2 separate regions of the Homo sapiens genome follow, and region 2 is linked to region 1. The links are contacts of gene promoters, found by promoter capture Hi-C in human tissues and cell types (Jung and others, 2019). All regions are on one chromosome and are shown on one strand. Each heading gives the region's core, a stretch centred on a gene start or on the middle of the fragment in contact. The rest is flanking DNA. Distances are from core to core; before and after follow the strand shown.

Evidence for each region. Contacts are between HindIII fragments. The study calls those that stand out against the background at their distance.
Region 2: a contact is called between the fragment with the promoter of HOXA13 here and a fragment that was not itself captured in region 1, in 1 of the 25 tissues and cell types used here (dorsolateral prefrontal cortex).

What each region holds. Positions count from the first base shown.
Region 1 is chr7:27,940,822-27,946,703 of GRCh38, forward strand. The region is part of intron 2 of JAZF1 (JAZF zinc finger 1); the gene reads right to left. Among named protein-coding and RNA genes, the nearest start is that of TAX1BP1-AS1, 200 kb to the left of the region's middle. The HindIII fragment of the contact is 7,818 bases long and covers 1-5,384 here.
Region 2 is chr7:27,198,781-27,204,685 of GRCh38, forward strand. It overlaps HOXA13 (homeobox A13), which reads right to left and starts at 1,311. Exons shown (of 2, transcript NM_000522.5): 1 at 376-1,311. The coding sequence starts at 1,297. HOTTIP (HOXA distal transcript antisense RNA) reads left to right here and starts at 1,641. Exons shown (of 3, transcript NR_037843.3): 1 at 1,641-1,741; 2 at 1,843-3,858. RefSeq lists enhancers at 3,658-4,182, 5,677-5,905. The HindIII fragment of the contact is 6,019 bases long and covers 1-1,964 here.

The sequences.
Region 1 (5,882 bases), core at 226-2,725:
AACAAAATTTACTGTATTCATAAATACTAATGTTCTCACTTGGTTCCCTATCTTTAGTATACTGTAAATTATAAGCAAGTACATAAATGTCTTGGCCTGGTAATATAGTGGCCTGAAATGACTTCCTTTTTCCTTTAAAGATGTTGCATGTTTTAATGGTAGGTGTTTTTAATTAACTTGAAGTGCCATAAACTGCCCATGTATGAACAAAGACAAGTGAGTTGCATTAAATTAAAAGTGCAGTATCTGACTAATGTTAACAAATTAGGCACGCCTTCAAGATGCACAATTTCTGTTTGGAGTTGTCATTTTACTAATGCAGAGATACCAAAGCTCCTAGAATAGCTGCACCAAATGAGCCTTTCGAAATTAATATTTTTGGCAATCAATTAGGAATAAGATTTCAAGCTTTAAAAAGATTCCCACTCAGGCATCTCAACATAGCATCCCTTCCCTTTTTCCTTCATAAATGAGCTCAATTTGGGGATGTGATCTTTTTGCCAATATCAGTGCAAATTAGCACTGTAAATATTAAAATCAAATGTTACTACTTCGCCTAATTTTCTTTCAGCCTGCAGTTAATCTTTATTCAGCCTTAATGAGTATTTATTGTGTGACCCTGACAGCTTGCTACTGCTGTGATAAATTATCTGACTCAAGTCCGATTAAAAATGCAACCCTGAGTGCTAATTATCTCAACAGACCTGCTTAATAATAGCATTTCTTGTCAATTATGGAATCTCAGCATGGGTGTCAATAGCAACAAATGCACAGGCCTACCTTGGATGCTGACTTCCCATAAGCCCTTTTACTTGCCATATGTAAATCAGAGTGCTTCTGTACCTGTGATGACCTTTTATTAGCAAACTGTCAAAATGATAAAACTAGCCGTAGCAAAACCCTCACCACCATACAATTAGGGGCTACAGCTTAGGACAACAGGAGGGCAATCAGACACAGCTAATTATGATGCATCTTACTTGTGGCCTGTCCAGCAGGAAGAATGAGCTGTTTTGAAATTTATGCCAGCTTCAGCACGGCCCACAGGAGGGAAGCTGCTGGAAAGTGGGGTAAGGGGGAGGGGACAGGCAAGGAACTGCATATTTCTACAGTTTTTCCGGGAATCTGGAATCAGATCCGAGTTCAAATTTCAGCTCACTTATTTGCTGTGTGACGTTGAATAAATCACTTCATCAGAAAAATGGAGGCAACACCATTTCACCTCACTGGGGGCTGGGTGAGTGAGGGGAATGGAAGGTAACAAATGTAGAAACACCTAGCAGAGTGCTATCACATAGAAGGTGCTGAGCATCTGTTTACTTTCTTCCCATTTGCCTTTTCCTTTCCTAATGATCAAGATAACAGATAACAACAGCTAGAAGTACCATTTATGGAGCTCTTGCATGCACCTTGCACAATGTCTTATGCGCAGCCTTCCTCCTTCACCCCTGTGGTCAGAACTGATGAGAACACAGCAGAGCTGAAAGCTACCCTACCCAGATCATTTAGTGCAGTCTCCCCTTTGTAGGTACAAATGTCTTAAAGAATTCAAAAGCAAAGACGACTCTCTTCTCAAAGGGTTACCTGAGTCAAACATTTTGCAACCTGCCTTGGTAATAGCAAATGGAGTAGCATTTATTTAACTGAGCATTTACTACGTGCCAGTCACCATGGGGAGTGCTTCACTTTGTTTAATCCACACAGCATCCCTATGAGGTGGCTACTCTTAGCATATTCCCTCTGGAGATGAGGAAAGAAGAGAAGAAAGGTTAAACGACTTGTGCAACATCCACAACTTGTAAGTTTCAGAGCCCAGGCCTGAGTTGAGAGCCAAAACACCCACTTCTCAAAACAGAGGGGACACCACAATACGTTTTAATTACCTCCACAATGCTTTTAGTAGAAAAGGACAGGGTGATACCGGCCTGAAAATGTTCCCCACACCGTTATGTGGCACTCTAATTATAAGGAACAATCAACAATAAGTGCCTTTTTGGCTCTCTGCTGTGACAAACTGCAAAGGCAGCAGGGCAGGAGGCAGGTCTGAAACATAAGCCTTGGCCTTTGCATGGGGCAAGGGGTGCTGGGAGTGAAGTAAGATGAGGCGCTATTTGGTCACATGACCTCAAGCGTGATCAGCCTTGAGTGGTAATTTATGGGGCACAAACCTCCTCTGGCTTAATCCAGAGAGGCTTCTTTTTCATGACGAAACAAATTCTGTCACATCGATGCGTTCCTGCCTCACCTGCCTGCCCTTCCTAGGCCAACCTGACAAGAACCCGGAATACAGCAGGGTTCTGAGCATAACTGGAGGCAACATCCTCAGATACAGTTCTGAATTTTCCCAGAATAGAAGGGGACTGTCTCAAGTGAACCCCTATTAAAACACAGATGTTCACATCCCCTACATCCGGACTGCCTGGCCTATGCAGACAGAACAGGGAATCCATCCTGTTCTGTAAGGAGCCAAATAGCATTTCCCTGGTGGCCACACCCAGGTTGTGATAAGGCTCAGGGTCGTGGGAAACAATGCAGAGGAAAGGAGGGTAGTGTAGACGCCTCCGCTGCTAGCTGGAGGCCGCGCACTGGATGGCTAATGAGGCCCAGATGCGGGTCTCTCACAGACTGATCCGGGGAGATGTGAGAAAGGAATGCGATCATTTCCGTCTGAAATAACGTGCTCCCTCTTCCCCGACACCTCGGGCCCACTTCATTACTTCCTCCACAGATGATCTCAAATTAGGAAGCCAATCCTTCCCCTCGATATGATGCCAAGTTAGTGCCACGAGGGTGTAAATCAAGTGTTTCATAAACACTGTGTGGGCTAATTTCTTTCCAGGGGTACTCAAGTCAGTCATCTCCCTCTCATGAGCATTCGCTGCTTTCCCATAAAGTGAGCATGCCTGTGCTTTCTTTGATGAGTGATGCTAATTGTCATTTGGGGTGAGCTACAAAGCTCTTTCTCTAGAGCATTAGCTGAAAGTTAATGCATTCCACAGAGATATCTGGGGGCCCAGTTTTCAACATCCTGATGCTTCTCATCACCTTATTCTGTCAAGGTAAACCCAGATTTCAGCTGGGAATAAAGCCTTGTGGGTTTAAGTCTGTCTCCTGATTTTCATACTTTCTTTGATTCCTATGACACAAAGCAATGTTGATAGGAAATTATTTTGTACCACACTTCCCTCCTTGGCGTGTCCTTCAACAGCCATTCAAATTCCACCTAAGTTTCACAGGAACTATGGAAACATATCCTCTACAGATGGGCTTAGCATGAAAGTTATTGCCCCACTGTGCAGAGCCCAGTGGTCTGACATTATTTACCTCCCTCTGAACACTACTACAAAAGGAACTACATCTTGCCGAACCCTTTAGCAACAAGGAACATAATACATGTGCCCAGTGTGCTGTTAGATGCATATCTGTAGTCTCTGTATTTCAAATTGTTCTATGCATGAGTCCAGTGCAAGAAAAAGTGTGGCTCAAAGGCTGTGTCTACAGCGCATAAGGTTTTAATGGCCTTCGCTTGCTTGCAGACCAATCCCTTAATTTTCCGGTTATCCAACCATTTGCCATTTGGCTTCCTATTTTGAAGAATATGCTTGTTGACACATTTTACTGAAAAATCAAGTAACCTGAAATACAAACTGTGACTTTAGTGGTAGATTATTTGTTTTGTAGGTGGGTGCCCAATTTGAGCAGCTATTATCTACTTTTTTCATTTTATAATGTTGACCAAATCTTAAAAAAAATTTTATTTCAGTCTGGGTCTCAGGCCAACAAAATAGTCCCTTGAACTTGACTGAAACATATGGATGTGAGATTTCATTTATTGTTTTTGGTAAAGTCATGTTCCTCCAGAAATTGTGCAGGGGTCACATGAGAATCTTGGGTGCTGCCACTTGCCTGAAGCTGTTTCCACTAGCAACGATCTTCCTAAAAACACATGTCAGCAGTTAGCAATCCAGGAGTATGACTGAAGCCAGCCCTAGGGAGCTTCATTTCTATTTTGGAGACTCACTGGCCTTCCAAGGGACAGAAAAAAAAAATTGGATCATTTGGCTTTGCAGGAAACCCCTTGCCTAATTTCTATTTCTCTAAGCCACACCCTTTCCGGAACGCTGTCATCTGCTACGGTGTGACTGGTAATACATTTCGGAGTTCGAGAAATAATCCTTGACACCTCCCCACTATGCATTATCATCTTAAAACTATCACAAGACCCACAGGAAAACAGTTCTTCTATCTAGGATCTTTGGAAAAGTGATCGAGAACTCACTTTGGTACCTCTGGGGATACTGAAGTAAAAAAATTTTTTTTTAAAAAAATCTTGTTTCAGGGCCGGGGTTTAAGCACACCGCTGTTGGACACACTGTTAGAAAAGAAAGTAAATCCAGAAGCCGTGATTTCAAGCAGAATTGAGTGTGGGTGTTGGCTTTATGCGGCATTATGACAGCTAGCCTGTAAGATGTCCAGGGAAGCCCAGCGGGGCAAGCCATGCCCAGCACCAATTCCCTGGACTAGGAAAAGCTCTGCTGATCATCCCCCTGAGCTTCTGTGTAGCACCTCCCGATTCCTGACCTTGGTGTGGGCCAGCAGGGTCCTCTGCACCTCTTCTTAACCCAGGCCTTGTGTGTCCCTAAAATCAGATCTTTTCAGTTCTTCCTCCTCCCCTTCTCTCAAAGTTACTATCACTTCCCACACCCAGGTCAAGTTACACCTGTCCGTTTTTTACGGTTGATTTTCTCCAGACCAGCAAGCAACACATATCAAGGGTTGTGGTTCATCACCATGCCCTTGCTGGGAGTTCTCAGAACCAGCTGCATCGGCATTGCCTGGGCACTTGTTAGGCAGAATCCTAGACTCCACCCCAGACCTATGGGATTTGTATGCACTTTAAGTTTAAGAAGCACTGGTCTGGAAATGACAGGTCTTTCTTGAAAGCAACTTATTTCTGAGAGTTCATGAGTGATCTAGAATTCTGGGCCAATTCACAGAATATTGACAACCATGGCTGCCTTCTAAAATCTCCCAGGTGAAGTCTTCATCCTGCAGACAGAATGATTTATGATAATTTGACTTACAATTTTTTGACTTTATGATGGCGCAAAAGTAATACACATTCAATAGAAACAGTACTTTGAGTACATACAACCATTTTGTTTTTCACTTTCAGTACAGTAGTCAATAAATTATTTAATCCTCTACTATAAAATAGGGTTTGTGTGAGTTGATTTTACTAGAATAAAGGCTAATATAAGTGTTTTGAGGATGTTTAAGGCCAGCTAGGCTAAGCTATGATGTTTGTTTGGTAGGTTAGGTGTATTAAAAGCCTTTTTAACTTAATGTATTTTTAACTTATGATGGGTTTATCAGGACATAACTTCATTATAAATCCAGGAACATCTGTATTTGGATATCCAGGAGATATGTTTAAATCTGTAGTAAATTTGTTTAGTTTAAAAGGGAAATTAAATGTTCTGGTTACCACACACACCAAATAAAGATATGTAATTTTTGAAGAATTAACCTAAAGAAGATCTATCTAATACGCAATCTGAAGGCACTTTGAAATCTTGTAGTGTCTCATATTTAGCACCAGCTGACAAAGGCTGGGGATAAAACAGCCTTTGTTTTAACTGAAATTCTCCTGGAAAAAACATCCGAGAGTCTCCATGATTCCCCCAATGACCAACTGATTTTCCTTGAAGTTTTGGAGTACTCAGTATTCACAGGGTTGTGAGTGGCTTCCAAAAATAGATTTCTGGGCTGCATGTCATCCCTAATAGAGCAGAACTGTCAGATGTTGGGGTAGGGATTTGTGGTTTTAAATCTCCCTAGTGACTGCAGAAGGACCATAAGTGGGAGCAATTATTCTAGGC
Region 2 (5,905 bases), core at 61-2,560, 740 kb before region 1:
TCCCAATACTCGAAGCTTCTACACTGAAGCCATTTTTGAGAGAATGAATAGGGAGGGGCAATTTGGGGAGCTGTTTTCTGGTCAATTTCTCATCCTTAAATTGGTGTCAGGGGCTGGGGAGGGCGGGGCGCAGAGGGAGAGGGAAGCTAGCCGAGGTCTCCACAAGCCACCCCTCACCCAGGGAGAGCCAGGGACCAGCTCAACTCGAGGCAGTGCAGGCAGACCCAGCCAGCCATGCTCGGGCTCCCAGGGGTGCAGAGCCGCTAGGGCAGACCAGGAAGAGAACAGAAACGCACCCGGGATCGCCCGGGTGCGAGCGGAGAAGAAGCTGGAGCAGAGCCGGAAGACCAGGGCTGGGAATAGGTCGTCATTTACCGGGCAGAGTGGACTTCCAGAGGTGGGGAGGCTGCGCCTGCTCTTTGGGGCAGTACATTTGGCCGTTCCAGCCGTTGGGCAGCGCCCAGGGCTGGTAGCTTTCCATGGGAAGACCCAAGGGTTCGTGGCGCGACTCGCCGGGGCCCCCGAGGCCCGGCACCACTGGCATATCCAGGTAGCCAGGCATGGGCTGATGGTGGTGGTAAGGCCCGGCTGCGTAGCCCTGGTGGTAGAAGGCGAACTCCTTAGCGCGGGAGCTGAACTCCTCGGCAGCTGGGCCGGCGGTATCCATGTACTTGTCCGCGAAGGCGGCGGCGGCGGCGGCCGAGGCGGGCTGCGCGCACGACTTGATGGCGTTGGGGTGCGGGCCCATGCGGGCGCACGGGTAGTAGCCGCTGCCGAAGTAGCCATAGGGCAGCGCCGCGGGCCCCGACGAGCTCTGCGCCGCTGCCGAGCAGGGGCTGCATTGCTTGGCGGCCTCTGCGCCCGCCGGGCCCGCCGGGCCGGGACCTCCCGAGGACGACGCGGCGGCGGCGGCGGCGGCTGCAGCGGCAGCCGCGGCAGCAGCGGCGGCAGCCGACGGGGGCGCCTCCCCGGGGGCGCTGCTGTAGGCGGACGCGGCTCCTGGCGCCAAGGGCGCCGGGTGCGCCATCAGGTTGCGGCACTGGTTGGCCGCGGCCGCCGCCGCAGCCGCGGCCGCCGCCGCCACCGAGAAGTTGCCCCCTGCCGCCGCAGCCGCCGGGTGGGGGAAGCCCCCGCCCCCGGCCCCGGCAGCCGCCGCCGCTGCAGCCGCTGCTGCAGCCGCCGCCGCCCCTTCCATGTTCTTGTTGAGCTCGTCGGCCACCAGGCCGCCGCCGTTGTCGTAGAGAAACATGACGGTGGGCTCGATCCAGCGGGGGTGGAGGAGCACGGAGGCTGTCATAGCCCGAGCCGCATGGAGAAGACCCCAGTGGCGCTGTTTTAAAAAGCCCCCAAGAAGTGAAGAGCGCGCGGCGCGGGGCCGGGGCCCGAGCGAGGGGGGCGGATCGCGCCCCGCGGGGTCGCGCCAGGCGGCCGCCCATTGGCCCGGCCCCCCCGCTCCGCCCACGGCGTATGCAAAGCGGGCGGCTCCGACTCCAGCTCTGCACGGTGCACCCGTCGTCCCCGCCGCGGCCCGCGCCGTCCCCAGCGCCAGCCGCGCGGCCGCGCACCATTCACCCGGGGGAGAGGCGGAGGAACGTGCGGGTGGGGCAGGGAAGGAAGGCGGCCCCATCTCCGCCCCCCTTCCCTTCCTTTATCCCAGTGGGGCCCAGACCCGCGCAACCAGGCGGGGAGGGGAGGTGGGCGCGCGATTGGGTTGCGATCTGGAGCAGTGGGGACAGGTCAGGTAATTCTGCCGGCGGTCAGGGATGGGAGAGTGGGGAGGACGGGACCAGCCTAGCTCAGAATGGGTGTTTCTTGGAGCCTCTGGGACTGTTTTCTTTCCAGGAACCGGCGCGTATTTCTGCAGTGAGACCACAGGACGGACATCGGCGCCTTCGGCTTCGATGGAGTTGCGATTTTGCTCTTTCCAGGGAAACAGTGGCAGGGTGTTTGCTGCTTATCGGTTCCTGCGGATATGCCTGGGTCCCAGGACATTCCACTGGAGGCTTGGACTGCATTTAGGAGCCCCTATCCCTTCCCTGTCCACACTGTTAGTGAGCAATTTCATATGTTTGCATTTAGACCCATAGACTCAGAACGACTCATCACACACACACACAGTGTACACTGACACACTCACATTCGCACACTTAGGTATACAGCCTGATCCTTGCTCTGACCTGGTAACAACGCTTCCTCCTCCAGAGACTTTGAGATAGAGCGAGCGATCCCTGTGCACCATTCATCCATGCTCCCACCTCGCCAGTATGGCTGGCTTAGTTCTGGAAGGGGCTTAAGAGGAACAAGCCCCAGCTGTGCTTCTGGCTGGGACTTAAACCCCCCTTCTGGGCCCTAAAGCCACGCTTCTTTGTGGACCGGACCTGACTCTCCAGGAATCTGGGAACCCGCTATTTCACTCTATTTTGGGACAAGAAAAAGGGGCTCTTTGGGGCCACTTCCTGCCTTCCCCTCAAGTAGGATCTCCAGCCTGCAGAGGGTGCCTAGTCCTTCTTTGCCCAAGAACCAGTCCAAGAAGCCTTTCCTCTGTGCCTGGGAAATGCAACCTTTTCTTGGGAGCATGGTAGGGTGTTGGTGCTGAAGAACCAAGCAGCGACCCGTCTTGTAGCTGCCATGTTTTGTCGAGGGGTTCTGGGGGTCCTGCTGCTTTAGAGCCACATACTTCCACTTCCTGATTCACTACTGTGAGCTGGTCAGATGCCTAGAAGAGGAACAAGCGTTCAAAGTGAAAGTGGGCACATTACCGGAATAGTGCTGGGGAGAGTGCTGGATTCTTTTCCACCCCAGGCGGACTGGTGAGAAGCCAGGCTTGGACCTGTCCTCTGCTCCTAGCTTGCACACTCAGCCCTAAACTCAGAGCAGCACGCATACCACCCCTCACACACACCCCACCATCTGCTGTCTAAGGCCCCTGGGCTTCCTGCAGGATCCAGACCAATGTGGCTGGGCTTGGGCTTTTATCTGTCCTGATCCTGGATTTGTCCTGACCAATGTAAGTGTCGCCCAATAAAACCTTCTATGACCCCCACACCAGCCACCCCCCCACCAAGTGTGCCCTTTCCTTCTTGACTTTTTAGCAGTTCTGGGTAAATATTGATTTGCCCCCAGTTTACCTTCTCCCTGACTGGCCATTTGCAGACTCAGGAACTAGCCTCTGTAGGGACTTGATTTTTCTGTTACTTTCTGGCCGTTTCACCACCCCCCTTCCTCCCTCCAAGTGGCATTGTAAAACTCACAGTGACAAAGAGACAGAGTAGGGTTCTAGGCCCCTGTTCCTGGGGACTTGAAGGCGGTTTTACATACTGGTCAGACACGGCTGGAGGCCAAGGTCAAGTTGAAAGTTGCAGTCCAGCCAGCATGAGAACTGCCATGCGAGCGTAGAGACACAGGCAGCAGCAAAAGGCCCATTGCCCACATCCCCTCACTCTTAATTTTCTCTCTCTTTTTAAAATTCTCGCCTCTGACTCTGTTCGGCTGCCCAGAATTTTTTGGTGCCTTCGTGGGGTTTTTGGGGCGGTGTTTACCGACTCTTCTCTGCCTCCGCCCTGCTCAGCCAGGGCTTTGAGCCTCTTCGGTTTTCCGGCCAGACCCGGAAAAACGAAAACACAGCTTGGGGAGCCCCCACTAGCCGGCGCCTGTGCCAGCTCACCTCTGGCCATGGCGCAGCTGCCGGTGCACACGGCGGCCAAGGCCAGCTCCACATTCTTCCCTCCCCCTCCCACTTCACCGTAGCCCCGAACCCTGCGCGCAGAGAAAGGGTCTCAGCTCCACAGACGACTGGGTCCCTCCTCACCAAAAATGGTGAGACAAGATTTCATCTGTCGGCCGAGGAGCCACAAGCAGGTTTGTCTGAGAGGGATGGTGCTGGGGGAAGGCTTTGGATTGCATCTCAAATTAAGCTTTGCTCCTTAAATGTGGCGCTCTCGCCAAGAAAAAGCTTGGGGACTGAATTCTTGAGATTTATGGTGCACCTTATTGATCAAATTTATCTGGACTTTTTTTAGTTCCCCGATGTGTCCCTATCATTAAAAAAAAAAAAAAAAAAAAAAAACCCCTCTCAAGACATGCTTATTTAGAGGAAGGCACCCTGCTTGTTCTCTTCTTGTCTTGGATCTCAACATGTATCTTATTTTTCTACCAGACATGTCCATGGCGTCCTGGCATGCCCCACTGTTTTCAAATGTCTGCATGTCCTGTCAGTATTGAGTTGTAGCCACCAATCAGTGGAGGTCGTTTATAGAAGGAGAACGAGCTCTGAATAATTTGGGTCTGAGTTTCAGAATTTCTACTCACTTTTAAGCAAGAATAATCTTCCTTCCCTGTCTTCTGCTAAGGGAGATAAGATATTTATTAATGTTTCCCAATATGATTTCTTTCCCTGCCAGGCAGCCAACAAACTGACTTGCTGTGGCAAAAGAAAGTTTGGAGGACGATTGAGACGGGTGTGCTCTGGGAAGCAAGCACAGACCCTCCTAGCATTTTTCCTCTTTTCCCAACGGCAAGGTCAAGATTTGCTTGCCTGCCAAGGTAGTGGGTCCTGATCTTCTGAGCTGTCTGTCCCTCTGATTTTTTGTTCTCCAGGCTCAGGAATTCCTATAGGATTGCAGAGGCACCTTCAACCTGATAATTTTATATTCTCAGGCTCCTCCTGGGTTAGACTGGGGAAGCCAGGGCACCCACTAGGATCGGCCGGCAGCGGTGGCACCTTAGGCATGACAGCCAAGCAGAGGGCTGCATGAGTAGAGGTGGGAGAGGTGGGAGAGGCTGCAGTCACTTCCCAGGTACTGTCTGGTGCACTGATTTCCCCGGAGGAGCCCTGAGAGGGCAGTGCAGGCAGGACCGGAGGGTAGTTTCTGCAGCACGGCCTTTATTTCAGGAATCACCAGAGCCTTTCTCAGTGTTCCAAAATGCCTTGGCTGACAAGGCTTCTTACTTCCTGGGGTAGGCCAGGGTGCCCTGCAGGGACTGGTTGCCCAAAAACCTCTCACTGAAGAAAAAAACCGCAGCTAGGTTTTTCTGGGTGGGGAACTGGATGCCAGCCTGGTCCACGCGGCTCTGGGCTCCCAGCATTGGAGAAGAAAAGGAAAAAGGGAAACCAGGTTTTAATCGAGCTTGATTTTCATTAGCAAATGAAATTTACCTGCTCTCACTTTAACTCTGAGGAGGCTGTCAGCACTGCTCCCTGGCACTATTTCTTTGCATCCATCCAGCACTAGGATAAACATTCCTTGGTTGATTCTAAAGACACTTTGTATTTCAGGATATTCATGTGCTTTTAATGTATCCAAGCAGCTTTACAAGCCACTTTTGCAGAACATCTTAACCCTCTCTCTCCCACCCTAGGTGGGCTGGGGCACAGAGATAATGGCAAAGGAAGAAAGATCCAGAGGAAAAACTGGTTGAGGGGCTGAGGAGAGAGAAAGAGAAAAGACGAAATCGTCAAACAGTGTAGCACCTCTGAAGCCAAACTTGAGCAGATCATTTGGGAAAGGAGCAAGTGGGGGACTGCTCTGCTTATGGAGGGAATTTTGAGTGTCCCCATCAGGTAGAAGCTGTACCCTCTTTCTTAAGGGGAAAGGGTTGGTAGGTCCTGAGATCTGGGCTGAAGTTGGCCAGCGGACAGGGAAATGGTGCATCGAGTCACTCACTCAACCTTTTGTTCCAGATTTTTGTGCATTTGAAACAATAATAAGGCAGTAAAAGGCTTGAGGCTGTGGGATAGTTTTGGGCTATTGTCACTGTGGTGACCAAATGTTAACATGGTGAAAGTGGAAGTGCAAGGTCCAGGAAGATCTACAGGGACCCCCACTTTGCCTTTAAGATCCCTTCATGGGGTGGATCTCAAGGACAGCAGGTTTTTGGAGGAGCAGCTCTCCTGCTGCCTGTAGAG